Linked DNA regions of Homo sapiens: region 1 is linked to region 2. Evidence: promoter capture Hi-C in 16 types of primary human blood cells and fetal thymus (Javierre and others, 2016). All regions are on one chromosome and are shown on one strand. Each heading gives the region's core, a stretch centred on a gene start or on the middle of the fragment in contact. The rest is flanking DNA. Distances are from core to core; before and after follow the strand shown.

Region 1 (4,119 bases), core at 1,294-3,793, 130 kb after region 2:
CTGTGGTTAGGTGAAAGGTAACAGAAAAGCAAGGACTTAACACTGGGGAAAATCAAAATTTGGGGGCTGGGCCTCAGAGGGATGATGAAGGAGGAGAAGCAGGCATGACCAAAGTTCCAGAAGCCAGAGGAGTGGGTTTGAAGGAGAGGCATATAGCAGTGTGCAAAGGGCACACAGTGGGTTGAAAACAGACCCAAGGTAGAAATCTGTTGCATGCGAGCACCCAACATCACTTTTCTTGGTTCTAACACGCTGATTTCAGAAGAGGCGAGTTTATAATCCATTGTGTTTGGATGGATCAGACCCTGGCACCCTCCCTGAGTTCAGAAGTGGTCACGTGATCCTGGTCTGACCCATCTGATGATCACTACTTTCTGGCTAAGTTTAGAATTTCAGGATACTAGCTCACATCTGCAATTCCAGCCTTTGGAAGGCCCAAGGCAGGTGGATAGTTTGAGCCCAGGAGTTCGAGACCAGCCTGGGCAACATGGTGAAACCCCATCTCTACAAAAAGTATAAAAAATTATGGCTGAGTGTGGTAGCTTATGCCTGTAATCCCAGCACTTTGGGAGGCCAAGGTGGGTTGATTCTTTAAGCCCAGGAATTCGAGACCAGCCTGGACCCCATCTCTACTAAAAATATAAAACTTAGCAGGGTACAGTGGCACATGTCCATGGTCTCAGCTACTTGGGAGGCTGAAGTGGGAGAATCATTTGAGGTTGCAGTGAGCTATGATAGCGCCACTGTACTCTAGCCAGGGTGACAGAGTGAGACCCTGTCTCAAAAAAAAAAAAAAAAGTATAAAAATTAGCCAGGCATGGTGGTACCTGCCTGTAGTCCCAACTACTTGGGAGGCTAAGGTGGGAGAATCACCTGAGTCTGGGAGGTTGAGGCTTCAGCGAGCTGTGATTGTGTCGCCACATTCTAGCTTGGGAGACAGAGTAAGACCCTGGCTCAAAAAAAAAAAAAAAAAAATGAATTCAGGGATAAGGCTATAACTCATGACAGGCCAATGAGAGTCCATTCTAGGACTTTTGAAACCACTGGAAAAGAGAAATTTCAATCTATTGGGGTTGCTGTCCTGTGAGATAACAGGGCAGAGCTTCCAGAGAGCAATCTGCCACCTCCTGGGGTTCACTGGCTTGAGAATGAAACCAGCACAGGGGAAGAAAGAGCTGAGAGATAGAAACTCCTTGTTGATATGTTTCCTCCTCTGGATCCAGCTACGCATAGATGTTTGGGCCAACACATTTGCTTTGAAGCTTAAGTCCATTTGATTTGGGTTCTGTCCCTTGTGACCAAAGGAGTCTTGAGCCATGCATGGCCACATAGCTAATAAGGGGCTGCTGGTTGCACAGGCAGCATCTGGAGAAGGCTGGAGTCCAGCCCTGCACTTGCACATCACACAAATTACCACGAGCAGGTCAGTGGTCATGGCCATGGGAAAAAAAACTAGAAACGAGTGAGTTGGCTATGTTTCAATACCTGCTAGCGGAAAAACACAATGATTTCCTTTATGTTTTTCAGGGTTTGAGTCATCCAGGTCAGTCCTGGCTTGGCACATTAACTTATTGTTCCTGCCAAGGGAGATGGTTAAGATGGGAGGGTTGATTTATTTGAGTACACATGTGTCCACATCATCCTGGAAAAAAAGTAAAATGCAGATATGCTTTGCTGGCATGTGTTGTGACCCAAGAGGCCTCTTCTTGGCCTCAAAGACCAAAAGCCACGATGTTAGACATTGTTTCAGTCTTGAACTTGACCAAGCATGGGCAGGCACCTGGTATGATGGTGACATAAGGGCCCTGGGAGAGGAGAGTCCTCTCCCCACACGGTGGACAGGGTAGGAGGATTACTTTCTATTGAATAGTCTGAGACAAGAGTGGTGAGAAGGAGCCAGTTATTTGAAGAACCTAGGAAGGAGAGCAAAGCAGGTGCTAAGGAGGTGTGAGGAATGGTGGGAAGGCTAGTGTGGCTGAAAAGGGGTGAGCGAGGGGGACAGAGAACTGCCCTAATCTCTCCACCCATTTTGAGTCTTGACTGTCTGGTATTCTCTAGCACTTAATATAGTTAATCTCACCTTTTGTGCATTAATCCATCCAGTCATCCATTCCGCAAACATTTATCACACCTGACAGTGTAGGGGGTGCTGTCTTCAATGAAGGGTTCACCAAGCAGAAGGGGCAAGACACATCCCCCGCCACTACCCCCACCAGGCAGAGAAAGGCCTGTGAGCCAAGTCCTGGAAAGAAAAAAGCTCACCATTTAGGTGGGGCCTGTTGGGCAGGGCTTTGAATGCCCAGGGGGCACTCCGCCATGTGGAAAGTGTAGAAAACCTAAATGCAGAACTCCAGGAAATACTGATCTATGGGAAAAAAATTGTACTGAAATCCATGATTCTGGAATAAATCAGATCTAGTCTTATACTATATTCTAATACAGCCAAGTGGTGGCAGGGACTGAAGGTTTAAGAGAAAGCGAGAAGAGAAACACTTAAGATGGAGACTACTCCATTAATTAGCTTCATTTTTTTTTTTCTGACAACCAAGAAAAGTCCATCATTAGTTAATATTAGTGATGCCCAGCTTGGTTCAACTTAGAGCACCTGTTTTCTGCTGAGCGTCATTTGAGATCGGCTGGCATGGGCCAGAGGGAGCTGTTTCAGGGCCTCAATCAGGCAGTGACATGATCAGATTTATGCTTTGGAAAGGTCACTGTGGCTGCAGGATGAGGAGGGAAGAGACGGGTGGTTGTTAGCAGGCTGCTGGGAAAATGTACACGATGAGAACCAGAATTTGGGTAGAGACAGTGGAGATGCAAATTCCCTGAAGGCAAGAGTTTTGCTGTTTCATTCTTTCAGCAGTGCCTGGCAAGAGATAGGCACAGCCACTGGTAGATTTTTAGAAATGCCTACTGTATTGAATTGTCTGGTATTAAAAGCTACGGGACTCCAGACAAAACAAAAGTGTTGCCTCTCTCCAGAGTCTCCCTTCTTGGGAGAGGCATCATAGCTGAAGACAGACCCAGATAGGGAGTTTTCTGTTGTTGGAAATACTCAAGGTTTTGAGGAACTATTTGGGGACACAGAACACACAACTCCTGTTACCCGAACCTGGCCCGAATCTGTCTGTCAGATCTGTGCAGACGAGACATATGTTAGGCCTGGGGGCTTTTGCTGCTTGATAAGCAAACAACCATCTGTCTTTCTATAGGTGGGAGAAAGACCAATGTTAAAAGGTGTCTTTGAGATGGTTTAGCCCCCTCTTCCACATGAGTGTGCACTGCAGACACATCTGGATTCCCAAGGTCCAGAACAAGAAGCTCGGAAACGTGCTTAGATTTCCAAGTGTTCAGTTCTCAATACCATGCCATTCTCTTTGGAGTTTATGATGCCTTCCAGGGAGAGCAGAGCCCACGTGAGCTTTCCAACAGTAAGACTACTGCTGTAATAAATCATATTGCCCATTTGTGGCGCACTTACTCTATGCTGAGGTTGTATAAGGGCTTACATGAGCCCTATCTCATTTAAATTGTTTTCACCAAAGGGTGTGTGTCCCACTGCTGACCTGTTGAGCTAACCATCCCCTCTCAGTACTTGAAAACCTGCACCTGCCCAAGCCATGGCCTGGCTTCAATGGGGCTTCCTCCTGCACTGAATGAGATGACAAGAAAACAATGAAACACTTGTCCCCAAAAGTGACTTATTGGATTCGTTGGCAGAATGTTAGAAAGTGGGTATGAAGCCCAAGAAACAGGACACGGAGCCTCACCAAGCCCGAGGAGTATTACCGAATCCTAGCCCAGGCCAAGAATGAGTCACAATGAAAGCTTTTAAAATGTAAAACCATCAACCTAGATTTCAATTCCAAGGAAACACATACTTGGCCATGGGGGAATGCTTTAAAAAAAAAAAAAAATCAAGCTTAAGTCACTTGACAGGAAAATAAAACAGCCAAGGAACATTCAAATATAATGATTTACATCCTTCCCCAACTCCCTTCCAGTGTGGGTCAGGGCGAACATGGACCATGGACGTGACTGGAGCCAGGGGTGCATGCCCTCTCTGGGCTCCCTCTTGGTTAACACTATTTCAGGCACACAATCCCATACCTAAACACA
Region 2 (3,872 bases), core at 178-2,677:
AGTGGTGACTGGGCCCCTGTGATGGCACACTCCAGTCAGCTGGCCTTTGTACAGTTTTGTCTACCCTACTCCCCACCCCCACGAAGAGCCACCAGGGAACCCCTTAGTCCTGGAGAAGGCATTGACTACTCTACCAGGGGTTCCTGAAGCCCCTTGGTCCCCTTTGTCAGGCCTGCTGGGCACAACTCGAGCCTGGGGTCACTGCGCGCTCCCTAGCTTCTCCCCGAGTCCTGCTGCAGGAAGAAGCCCCGACCCCGCACAGGTCAGGATTCCGTGGGCAAAAACAACCCCAGTAACCTTGGTCTGAATAGCCGGGCTTGTCCCGCACCATGGGGGTCTCAGTGGGCCTGGGATCCTCCTGCATCTTCTTGGAGGCCCCGGTCCCACTGGGCCCGGCACAAAGGGCAGCTCTGGGTACCTACAGGCCAGGCCCCGACTGGCGCAGAGAGTGCAGCGGCTCTCATATTGCGAGGTGACGCGACTCCCTCCCGCAGGCCCCAGGAAGCTCCTGGAGGCGCGCAGGTGCCGGCCAGGTGAGACTGGAGAAAGGCGCGCAGGGCGCAGCATAGCAGCCGCGTGGGCCGACCCAGGGCCGTAGTCCCCAAGGGCCCTTAGGGGACATTAGACGGCGAGCTCCCTCCCTTCCGAGCTCAGCCAGTTTGCCGGGTGGGGGAGGGTGGCACCTACCTCCCAAAAGCACCAGGACGCAAGCGTAGGGGAGCATGGCTGCGGGCATCCCGTCGGGGCTGGCAGGACCGCCCGCCGGGCGCTGCCACGGTGCGCAAGGGGAGGCGCGGGCGCAGGGCTCTCGGACGGCTGCGGGCGCCGGCGGCCAGGCTGGAGTCCTGCGAAGAAGTTGCGAGGGTCCTGCGCCCCCCTCGGCGCTCACACGCGCTCAGCCTTCCCGGCTGTTGATAGTTGTAAGCGGAGCTGCGCACTCATAGGTCCAACTTGCCAGAAGAGGTGGAGACAGCCCCCGGCGAGGCGCGCACACCCGCGCAGCGCGCACAGCCCCCTGGTGCAGCTCCTGCCATTCAGACCCCCAGCCCTCCCCCAGATGTCCGTCCCCTGGCCGTCGCCTTCCCCAAAGTCTTCGCAGTGGGCAAGGAGGCCTCCCCCAAGCTCTGGTCCCGGCCAAGGCAGAGCGATGCGCTCCTTGCGTCAAAGCGCACCCCTAGCCAGGCCGTTCCCTGGAAGGGCAAGCGGGGCGGGGAGTTCCTCTAAGCCCCGCCAGTCCTGGGACCCCTGAAGTTTCTATTCAGGTCTTCCAGCTACTCCTGGAAAAGTCGCGTCAACTTGGATCCCAGCAAACCCAGAAGCGCAGTGAAAGTGGCCAACCCGGTCGCCTAGAAGCCAGCCCCGGCCTCTGTCTGTAAATGAGGCCGTCACCCGCTCCCCACCACACCCAAACGCATCTAGGCAAAGTGTGGACCCGACCAGGCGGGTTTTCCTCCTTCTCGCAACTCCTCCTCCTGCCCCCCTCCCTCCCAAATCTCATCTGAGTGAGTCAGCTGAGGGTGGCAGCTCAGAAGCGAGGCAGCCGTGAGGCGGAGGACAGGCTGGGGGATCCCAAAGGGTGCGCTCCAGCCCCCAACCCAGGCACTGGGACTCTGGTGGCACCCTGGGTGGCAGGCAAGCCTTGAAATCAAGTGCACGAGCCTTGGAAAGGAGGACCGGGAGAGTTATGGCATTTATGAATGAAGAAGAGAAAGAGAATCACTCGGATGGGAAAAGTTAACTGGATTGTTCCCACCTGCATGGATCACCGGGTAACTGCAGTGGGACCGAGGGGGCGAGGCTGCGGGCTGGGGATGTGCGGGTTTCCTTGTGTTGCCACGAACCCAGAGAGGGAGAGGAAGAAGATGGAAAGAAAAAGGAAAAAGGGAAAGAAAGTAAGAGGGGAGAGAGGGGAAAACTGAGGATGAAGAGAGACAGAGAAGAGAGACCTGAGAGAGGGAGAGAAAGAAAGAGACAGAAAGAGAAATGAAAGTGAGGAAAGGGGAAACAGGCAGAGAAAGAGAGAGAAAGGGGAGGAAAGAGAAAGGGAAAAGAAAGGAGGGAGTGAAATCAACAGAAAAAAGAGAACCAGGAAGGAGGAGGGAGGGGGAGAGAGAAGAGAGAAGAGAGAGAAGAGAGAACAAGAGAGAAGAGAGAAGAAGAGAGAAGACAGAGATGCGGTCTCCCTGGGGAAAGGTTTGGAGAACTGGGCCAGGCCTGTTTCCCGGGACTCACGAGTGAGCAGTCCACCTGCCCCTCTGAAGCATTTTATAGACTCATTTGTCCCACTTTTGTGGGCTGATCATCCCACAGGGGAACAGGGGACACCACCTCACCTTTTGATTTCTTACCAGAAACTTGGGCGAGGCTTCCAGGAGCCACAAGAGCCCTTCAATCCACCCAGGGACCCCCGATGTGGGCCCACCAGCCATCCTTAGCTTTCCTCCTCTCCAGAGGCAACAGGGAATAGGAAAAAGTCCAGAGCAAGGCCACACCATGATCTTAACGCAAATGGAAATGTGAGGAAAACGATCAATTTGCTTCCTGAAAATGACATTTTTTTTTTCTGGTTTCTATGAGACTCGAGGTGGCCTTGCTGAAACTGAAATCGGTATGAGCTTTCCCTGGCAGACAATGGCCATTGTCACATATTAAATTCTCATGAAAGGGATAACTTTGTGGGCAAGAGGAGAGTTGTGCAGGGTGATTATTTATACTTGCATAATTGTGATTATTTGTGGCAATTATGGGTCTTTCAATGTACAAAATTTACAATTATGGGTAGTTTAAAAACTACATGCTAAGGCCGGGTGCCGTGGCACACACCTGTAATCCCAGCTCTTTGGGAGAGCCAGACGGGTGGGTCACCTGAGGTCAGGAGTTTAAGAGCAGCCTGGCCAACATGGTGAAACCCCGGCTCTACTAAAAATACAAAAATTAGCTGGGCGTGGTGGCGGGCGTCAGTAATCCTAGCTACTCCAGAGGCTGAGGCAGGAGAATCACTTGAACCTGGGAGGCGGAGGTTGCAGTGAGCTGAGATCATGCCATTGCACTCCAGCCTGTGTGACAAGAGTGAAACTCCATCTCAAAAAAAAAAAAAAAAAAGTTAAAACTACATGCTATTCTGGCCATAATCATTTGAGACTTCAGTCTCTGGGCTTTCCGGATGTGGGTATTTCAAAGTCCCAGGCGGCTGATGGGGGTTCACGCATTAGTGGCATTTTGTGGGGAGAATGGGTGTTACATTGATGTCCTACATAGGGTCATAATTCAGTATTTTCAGAACTTATTGTACTGCTGTTAGAGATACGAACTTTTCCACAAAGTATGATGCTTGTGTATTAATAGTTGTACTGGCTTATTTATAAATGAGAGGATTTGCTGATAATTATTGAGACTGTGGCATGGGCCAGGCACTAGTTAGGTTGAGTACTTTATATGCATGTACTTTATACCTGAACAAATTGACAAGAAGTGGGAATTACGGTCAGGCCATTTTACAAACTGGGGCAACTGAGTTCAGAGAGTTTGGGCCACTGTCCTGAGGCCAGGCAGCTGGAAGGTGGCAGAACTCCCGGATCCCTGCTTCCAACCACCGCGCTGTGTCTCCAGGACACGTCCTGTCTCACTGGGTTTTCTGCTCCTTTCCAAATCTGAGGACCCCAAAAGAAAAGGCCTGTTTTATAATAACGGCTTCTTTTCGAAGAGGTGTGTGAATAATGGGGGAAACACGACTCCAAAGTACTTTTTCTCTCCAGCCTGGGCAACATGGCAAAACACCATCTCTAGAAAAAATACAAAAATCCTCCAGGTGTAGTGGCACATGCCTGTGGTCCCGGCTACTCGGGAGGCTGACGTGGGAGGATCTCTTGAGC

What was found. The method cuts DNA at HindIII sites, captures the fragments that hold promoters and counts their contacts. A CHiCAGO score of 5 or more calls a contact.
Region 1: a contact is called between a fragment that was not itself captured here and the fragment with the promoter of APCDD1L in region 2, in 1 of 17 cell types (endothelial precursors). The highest score is 8.3, in endothelial precursors.

The regions. Positions count from the first base shown.
Region 1 is chr20:58,644,197-58,648,315 of GRCh38, forward strand. The region is part of intron 1 of LOC107985410 (a long non-coding RNA gene); the gene reads right to left. Among named protein-coding and RNA genes, the nearest start is that of STX16-NPEPL1, 5.0 kb to the right of the region's middle. RefSeq lists a silencer at 3,297-3,591. The HindIII fragment of the contact is 2,566 bases long and covers 1,261-3,826 here.
Region 2 is chr20:58,513,972-58,517,843 of GRCh38, forward strand. It overlaps APCDD1L (APC down-regulated 1 like), which reads right to left and starts at 1,428. Exons shown (of 4, transcript NM_153360.3): 1 at 688-1,428. The coding sequence starts at 736. It overlaps APCDD1L-DT (APCDD1L divergent transcript), which reads left to right and starts at 1,408. Exons shown (of 7, transcript NR_034147.1): 1 at 1,408-1,769. RefSeq lists an enhancer at 31-1,029. The HindIII fragment of the contact is 14,141 bases long and covers 1-3,872 here.